2 separate regions of the Homo sapiens genome follow, and region 1 is linked to region 2. The links are contacts of gene promoters, found by promoter capture Hi-C in blood cells and fetal thymus (Javierre and others, 2016). All regions are on one chromosome and are shown on one strand. The core of a region is centred on a gene start or on the middle of the fragment in contact, and the rest is flanking DNA. Distances in the headings are between cores, read along the strand shown. Region 1 has its middle 12 kb from the start of SUPT20H. Region 2 holds the start of LHFPL6 (LHFPL tetraspan subfamily member 6).

Region 1 (4,109 bases), core at 169-2,668, 2.5 Mb before region 2:
TGAGGTCAGGAAGGCCCCCCTGTCCCCACAGGCTCGGGGAAGCCTGCTCCTGCCTGGCCTCTCCCTGTTCCCTGCACTGCTTTGATCTTGGAGCTGGGTTGGGGCCAAGCTCAGGGCAGTGCTGACACGCCAGCCCCCTGCTGCCTAGACCCCCTCCGGACTTTGGGCACTGAGGAGTACAGGGGAAGCCGAGGGGTGGCTGAGAGCAGCTTGGTGCTGGCCTACAGGTGCCCCTTGACTCGAGCATTCTGGGCTCCATGGACAGCTGCAGGAGGCAGACAGGCTGTTAAGAGGGTAGAAGGGGGCAGGTCCCTGGTTAGGCCAGGGAAGGCCTGAAGGCTTGGGGCTGACTGCCCATCCAGTTGATAGGAGTGGGAGGTGGTGGCTTTTCTGGCCACCCGCCATGGCCTCTCATAGACCAATCAGCGGGCACTTCTGAGGCCATAAAAGCCCAGGACTCAGCCAGAGCTGAACAGATGACGGGATGACCAGCTGCAGAGAGGAGCTACCCTCTCTGCTGGTAGCTGGACCATGGGAGGAACAGCTGCAGAGAGGAGCCACTCTCCCTGCCAAGAGTGAACACTTGTTGGGACGACTTGCCTGCAGAGAGGAGCTACCAGCTCTCAGTTAGGAGCTGAACACTTGACGGGACATCCTGGCTGAGGAAAGGAGCTGCCCCTTGTGGGAGACTGAGCTGTTCTATCGCTCAATAAAGCTCTTCATCATCTTGCTCACCCTTCACTTGCATGCGTACCTCATTCTTCCTGGTCACAAGACAAGAACTTGGGACCCACTAAATGGCAAGGCTAAGAGAACTGTAATACAAACAGGGCTGAAACATGCCCCTTGCTCCCCACGTTACAGGCAGAGAGAAGGAGAGCTGTGGCCCTTTGGGGAGTCTAGACCTGGGAGCTCCCTGAGCCAGGGCTGTGACTCCTTCTTTGAGGCCCTGTGGTTCCTGGCATCTCCAAGCTTCCAGGCACCACTGCTTTCCCTGGTGCCAGCCAGGGAAGCTCCTTGTGGTGCGCCCTGTCCAGCTGCAGCCTCACTGAGAGCCGGCGCCTATGCTGGCATCTGGAGCTGCCCGCCCCATGGCAGCAGCTGCATGTCTGACTGCGCAGTGGCCAGACCCCGTGCTCACACACACAACTCTTGCTGCTCCATGCTTGACTCACTGTCTCCCTTGGAGGTGTGGGATCCAGGCCAGTAGCATGAGCTGAGTACAGCCTGCTAGGCCAAGTGGGCAGAACGAGCCCAGTGGGCTGAGCAAAACTTGGGCAAGGCCTCCACCAGCCACAGGTTTCCAGCCAGGAGAAGGACACCTCAAAGATCCCATAACATTACCAAACTTGAAAGAGATTTCCCTAATCAAAATTATTAATTTATTGATAATTAGCAGAAAGATAATAGCTGAATCCAAGGAAAAGAAGAAGGTGGGTAGGCTATAAAGGCAAGAGAGCCCTTATATAATAAAGGCAACAGAACTTACAAAGATGCCTGATAAATGTCAGGTGCATTGCTAATTCCCTTGTTTCGACAAGGGAAGATTTGGGGCTTGAAAAAATACCTGGAGTTGCTGGTGTTTTAGTGAATATTCAATTTATTAAAATTATGAGTTTATAAATTTAGATTTCTTAAGACTTTAATCTCAAAATGCTAATTTTATTATAAATTCAGAAACTTATTTCAATTAAAAAGTCTCTTTTTCTTAACACCTCAGGGGATTCTTAAGTGCCCTGGAGTGTGAGAATCATTGTTCTGTAATGTATAATAATTTTCAGCCTTTTTTTTTTAAATAAGTAAGGTTTCTAAATTCCAATTAATGAATCTCTATTGACTTGTTTTCTCAGTGAGGCTGTCAAAGGGAAGCTTGATAGCTTTGGCATGAAATTCCATAGCATGTGTGGTTCTCATTGACATATGCTAAACCTGTTTCCTCCAGCCAGCAGTGGTTTCAGGGGAGTGTGTCTGACTTTTTCCTGAGGGTGACCCTGATAAAGAAAGAGAGAAAAAGAAAAGAATAATAAAGCAGGCATTGAAAGCAGAGAAACGTAGTGGTCCCCACTGTAGAATTTGATTCATTTCTTGCCCCTTTCTTCCTTTATCCAGGCAAACTTATTGAACAGGCATTCGTATAACTGGGCCACTGCCTGCAGAACATCGCCAGGATTTGCTCTGATTCACGTTTGCATCTATTAAAACATAACCTTTGGCACATTAAAAACTAAGAGTTTATTTGAGCAGACTGTGACCATGAAACAGGCAGGGAATGGCTAGGGGCTCACACAGAAATAGAGGCTCCTGGAAGAGGTTGAAGGAAAAACTTTTATAAGGTGAATGTGAAAGCAAAGAAATTATTTGTCTGGTTAAAGTTTGAGCAATTGCCTTATTTGGACTATTTCAGTGAAAGATTCAAGACAATATAAATAATGCCCAATTGGCCATTTGTGATTTGCTGAGATAAAGTTTAAAATTCCGTTAGGTTTCAGTTTGCTTATGTAGGAATCCAGGGTGTCAGAGCCACTTCAGTCTAATGGCCTCCCATTTAGTTATTTTAACACATCTCTAATGCCTACTCCAATCTTGGTGCTCAATATTCATTCATTAATAACTATTTCCTGAGAGCCTCTAATATACTAGGTATGCTTCTAACTGCTGGGAACATTAGCAGTGTCCAAAGGGATAAACATGTAGGCCCTCAGAGAGATACTTCCTAGAGGGAGAAATGAATAAATGAGAACACATAGTACATTATGTGTCTGTGTCCTTCAGGAAAAGGCCGCCAGCCACACACCTGTGGTTGAATAACTAGGGTTTGTTATTTTTTGCAGAGAGGGACAACAGTCACCATAGGGACTCATAGGGGGCTCAGAAAAAGAATGTAATCTATTATAGGATTTGGGCTTTAGCTGGCAACTTGGGGCAGGTTCTCAAAGAGTAGAGCTTTGCTCTGGATTTAAAGTTGTCAGGAAGTAGGGGAAATTCTGATTTGGTATCTTAATAAATCTTATGTGTAGAGAGGACAGACTAGATTGAGGCTAAAGTTGTACTTGGTAAAGAAGCAGCAGTCATTAATTTTAGCCAAAAGAAAAGAGGTGTTTGGTAATTTGTGGGTTGCACAGTGGCCTTGTTTTTATCTCACTTTATCAAAATCTGAGAGTGTCCTTGTCTGTTGTTGATGGTCTATGAAATTGTTTATGTACAGCAGGAGAATGGGGCCAAGCTGTGAGCATCAGGCCAATTGCCTGATGGCAGGGGCTTTCTCTTTATCAGATGATAATAAGTGCCATGAAGAAGAAAAAGAAAGCAGGGAAAGGCATATAGGGAGTGCTGGATGGAGAGAGGCAGGAATGATGTCGACTTAAAAACAGTTAGTGAAGGCTAATTAACCTGTAAGCAAAAAAAATCTGAAGGAGGTGAGAGAGGGGTCAACAAGTGAAACGATGGGGAGAGCAGCAGGAGAGATGGGAGAAACCACATTCAGAAACAGTGAGGAGACCAGTGGGTTCAACAGTGAGTTAACAAAGGTGAAATAAATACTTCTAAGGACTTCACGAACAGCTGCCGATGCCCAGATGTCTGGTTGCCCAAGGTGTTATCTGAGACTGAAGAAACAGACTTTCCCCCTTCATTCCCTGAAACTCCCACTCCCTTACCCTTTGGCTGCATAAAAACTCCCTGCTTCTGCTTCTTCCTTTTTTTTTGAGATAGAGTTTCACTCTTTTGCCTAGGCTGGAGTGAAGTGCTCTGGGCTCACTGCAACCTCTGCCCCCCAGGTTCAAGCGATTCTCCTGCCTCAGCCTCCTGAGTAGCTGGGATTACAGCTGCCCGCCACCACACCTGGCTAATTTTTGTATTTTTAGTAGAGATGGGGTTTTGCCATGTTGGCCAGGCTGGTCTCGAACTCCTGACCTCAAGTGATCCACCTGCCTTGGCATCCCAACATGCTGGGATTACAGGCGTGAGCCACTGCGCCCAGCCCCCGCTTCTTTTGTTAAGATGGATTTGAAAAATCTTGCTCTCCTGCCTTCTTGCTTTGGCCATATCAAATCTTCCTCTATCTCTGAGCACCTGTGTGTCAGTATTTGGCGTCAACTGCACGTCGGGTA
Region 2 (3,793 bases), core at 106-2,605:
TGCATGAGCCAAACAAACTAATTAGGATAATTTTTCACAATTGCAGAGTACCATAAATTTAACAAGCATTATGGTCTGCGGAGGCACCCACAGTACAGAACTATTACCAGACACTCTTTGTACTCATTCAGCAGCATTTCAGAATTTCTTTAGTCTTAACATCTTCTAGTGTAAAAGAATGCCTGTGTATGACTTATTTTGAGTCTGCAGTTTTGATTCATTGATTCCAACAGTTCTATTGCAATCATTTCTCCCACTGAATGATTGTCTAATTTGAACAGCAATCCATACTTCCCAGTATGCTACATCAAACCCCAGTCATCCAAATGGTTCCAGGGGCATCTACTTCCACCCCAGCCTTTCAAAAAGAGTTCCTTAACCATTTCTCACACTTTCCATAAAGAAATGAATACAGAAGCACAGAGCCCATCCACCCTAGAATTCCACCCCCAGGACCCCTAACTCCAGCTTTCAGGGTCCATAGCAAATTTCCCCCTTTCTTCACCTCGCCCCTACCCGTTTTTTTCTCTAACCACCGCCCATTTTCAGTTCTGGATGTCACTCAAACGGGAGGTCGGCTACTACTTTTTTTTCTAATCTTGTCAACTGCAGTCAGGGCTGAAGTTGATCTATCTGGGCCACGAGGCTGGGGAAGACCAGCAGGGGGTGGCCTGCGGGCAGGGGGCCCCCATCTCCAACTGCGGTGAGGCGCCCTCGCCAAGACAAGCCCATATTTAGCCCCCTGCCATTGCCTCACCGAGCCACTCCACCCATGGAGACACACAATGATCCCTCCATTCTAAAAGGGGGCAAGAGGCATTTTCCAGCCGGCTCTGGACGAAGGGAGGGGATAAGGATGGGAAGGCAGCACCCCCCGGAGGCAGACGCCAAGAGCGGACGCGGCTGGCAGGCAGAGCCGACGGATCCGCCGAGCTCAGGAAGTCCGGAGCCCGGGAGCAGCCCAACTCCGGCTCCGGGGCAGAGAGGGAGCCCGGGAGAAAGCAGCGGAGCCCACGCCCACGGGGCAGCCGAGTGATTTACTTACATGGCTGGCGGGCGGCGGCCACCTTCCCTCCCGCGTCCCGGGCGCACACACAACTTGCTGTCTTTCTCGGGCGGGAACATCCACGGGAAACCGGACCGTCCTGCCCTTCTTTGCCTCTGTCCCTAACAGCCGCAGAACCCCGGGGCCCGACCTGGAAGAGCAGGGGTTGGCAGGAGGCGGAGGGTCTCCAGAAGCGGGCTGGCACCAGCGGAGACCCCCACTCCCGGCGAGTCCGCGGCGGCAGCTCTGGCGGAGCGCTGTGGGCGCGCGCGGGCGCCGGGGATCGCACGCAGAGGAGCGGATCTCCCTTTGGCAGGCGAGGCACGCACCGCCTCCTCCCCTCCGCTGCCCGGCCCTCCTCTTTCTCCAGTCCCCTCCCCTCGCGCCCCGGGGAACTCCGCGCAGACAGACCCAGGACGCACCGGGGACGTTCCTGGAGCGCCGGGAAGGGAGTGGGGGGGTGCCCCGCTGTCCGCGCGGGTCCAGGCCCACCCCCGGGGGCAGCTTTCGCGGCTCCTCCCCTAGCCCCGAGCCCCCTCGCGCCCCCTCTCCCTGCGTCTCATTCAAAGCTGAGTGGGGAAGGCAGACAGACCGAGAAGTATGGGAGAAAGTTGCTTGTCTTCCTGGGTGACCCCGAGGAGCCACGGAAGATGACACACTTTGCCTGTTGGGGCTTTTCTGGGTTTACTGTTCGGGTTTATGCTCCTGTTTTCCTGCCGCCGTTAAAAGAAGCCGTAGACGGGAAAGAGGGCCTTAAAGAGTGGGTAAAGTGGCCCCTTTGAGATTTGAGGAGGCTTTTGAGAAGTGGTCACTTTGGAAGGCGGTGAATGAGGCGGTTGTGGACGTGGGAATTAAAGCACAGCAGACAGCCCAAGGCTCATGTATGGCATGGGGGCAGCTGCCTTTCCAGACGAGCCAGGGAGAAGGCAGGGGCGGACCTCTAGCGAGCCTCTCCCAAGAGATACACTCTTTCAAAGGTCTCTCTCTCTCTCTCTTGCTGTTTCTCTGTCTCTCTCTCCCTCCCTCCCTCCCTTTCCCTTCACTTCCTCCCTCCCTTCTCCTCCATCCTGCCTCCTGATCAATTTTGCAATTTATTCCATCGTTTGATTTCTTTTCTGAGAAACAACTGATTTTTAGTTCCCCTCTGGACTTGAGGACTTTTTCCACTTGTCATTAGCACTAACCCCTTTAGAAGTTTAGAGCTAGATTCAGTAGATGACTGTGGGAGTCTCTGCTGAACACAGTATTTTAAGAAGTATGCCATCTGGGAACAGCAGTTTTTGAAGTAGACAGTTTCCCAGATATAGTTTTTGTGAGGTGTCTTTTTAGAGGAGTTGAAAGTAATAAATTGGTAGGTATATATTTCATAGCAGATTTTCAGACTGCACCATTTTAATTAGCCGTGATGGTGTACATTTTTCCCACAACGACAGCTGGAGATATGTGTTCTTTTATTATTATTTTGAAAGACCTTAAGTGATTGATTCCAAGCCTTTTGAGGTCACAGGTCTTTTAAAAAATACGATGAAACTGATAAGCCTTCCAGAAAAAAAAATGCGCGGACATATAAAGCTTTACCACAGCGATTCTGAAGAAGGAAAGGGATATTTGGCAAGGTCTGAAGATAATTTTGATTATCATAACCCATGAATGGGGAGTATTACTGGCATCTAGTTGGTAAAGACCCGAGATTCTGCTAAATACAGTGCACAGGACAGTCCCCAAAATTACCTGGGCCAAAATGTCAATCATTTGAATGAAATATCAGGTGGTTTCCCATTCCCTTAAAGCCCATCCATGAATCCCATATTCAGAATCCCCAATTTAAGTGTTTTTGTTTTTGGTGTTGTTGTTGAGTTTAAGTTGTTTTAACTCTTCTCTTACAAATCACCGGTTACTGGTTTCAGTGACAGCATAAGAATGATTGGTCTGACTTCCAGTTAGGTACCACACCCTTAGTTATTACACAGAGCCTTCATACCTATATAATATGATGGTGGAAGATATGATCATAAAAGACAAAAGAATAATAGTGAGAATCGGAGTCACCTCCGTACAACCTGCAGGGGAAATTGCTCTCAAACACTTTCTTAAGTGTGAGAAAGCTTAAGCGCAAGTGCTGGCTGGAGACATATTAATGATAATCATGGTTACTACAGATTGACTCCTTGCTGTGTGTTAGTACATTAAGGTCCCTTAATAGATTACTTATCCAGTCCTCAAAAAAGAAAAGAAAAATTATGAAGAAGGAATAATTATTATTTTACCGCAAGGATAAGAAGTAATTTGCCCAAAAATTTACAGCTAAAAAATGACTTTTAAAAAAATCTCATTATTTGCACTCTCTTAAGCAGAGTAAATGCTATCACAGAGATTCTGCCTAAAATGAAAAAAAAAATGACAGAAGAGGCCAAATTTTTAAAAATCTTTCAGGATGCAATATCAATTATTTGTGAAAGTATAATACTGGGACTCAAATTTCTAACTTAAATAAGTGAATTCAGACAAATGGTGATCTTCCCAAGCCCTAAGTTATCTCATTGTTAAAAAGAGATTGAAATAGGTTATTTTAATTTTTTTTAAGCTCACAACTTCCAGCATCATGGTTATATGGGTCCTCTTATCTTTGAGAAGGAATTTAGAGATCATCTAATCTTGTTCAAGTATGTAATTTTACAGCTGACAAAACAGAGGCTCGAAATTCTTCCAGTGTCTTACCCAAAGCTGAGGCTATAATCCACATATCTT

What was found. Contacts are between HindIII fragments. The CHiCAGO score rates a contact against its expected background, and 5 or more counts as called.
Region 1: a fragment that was not itself captured here is called in contact with the fragment with the promoter of LHFPL6 in region 2 in 1 of 17 cell types (total CD8 T cells); the score reaches 5.2 in total CD8 T cells.

Annotation. Positions count from the first base shown.
Region 1 is chr13:37,070,020-37,074,128 of GRCh38, forward strand. No RefSeq gene overlaps it. Among named protein-coding and RNA genes, the nearest start is that of SUPT20H, 12 kb to the left of the region's middle. The HindIII fragment of the contact is 897 bases long and covers 971-1,867 here.
Region 2 is chr13:39,601,838-39,605,630 of GRCh38, forward strand. LHFPL6 (LHFPL tetraspan subfamily member 6) reads right to left here and starts at 1,356. Exons shown (of 4, transcript NM_005780.3): 1 at 1,046-1,356. It overlaps LOC112268119 (protein SPT2 homolog), which reads left to right. Exons shown (of 4, transcript XM_035861111.2): 2 at 613-703; 3 at 807-1,805. RefSeq lists a silencer at 1,251-1,550. The HindIII fragment of the contact is 2,884 bases long and covers 1-2,615 here.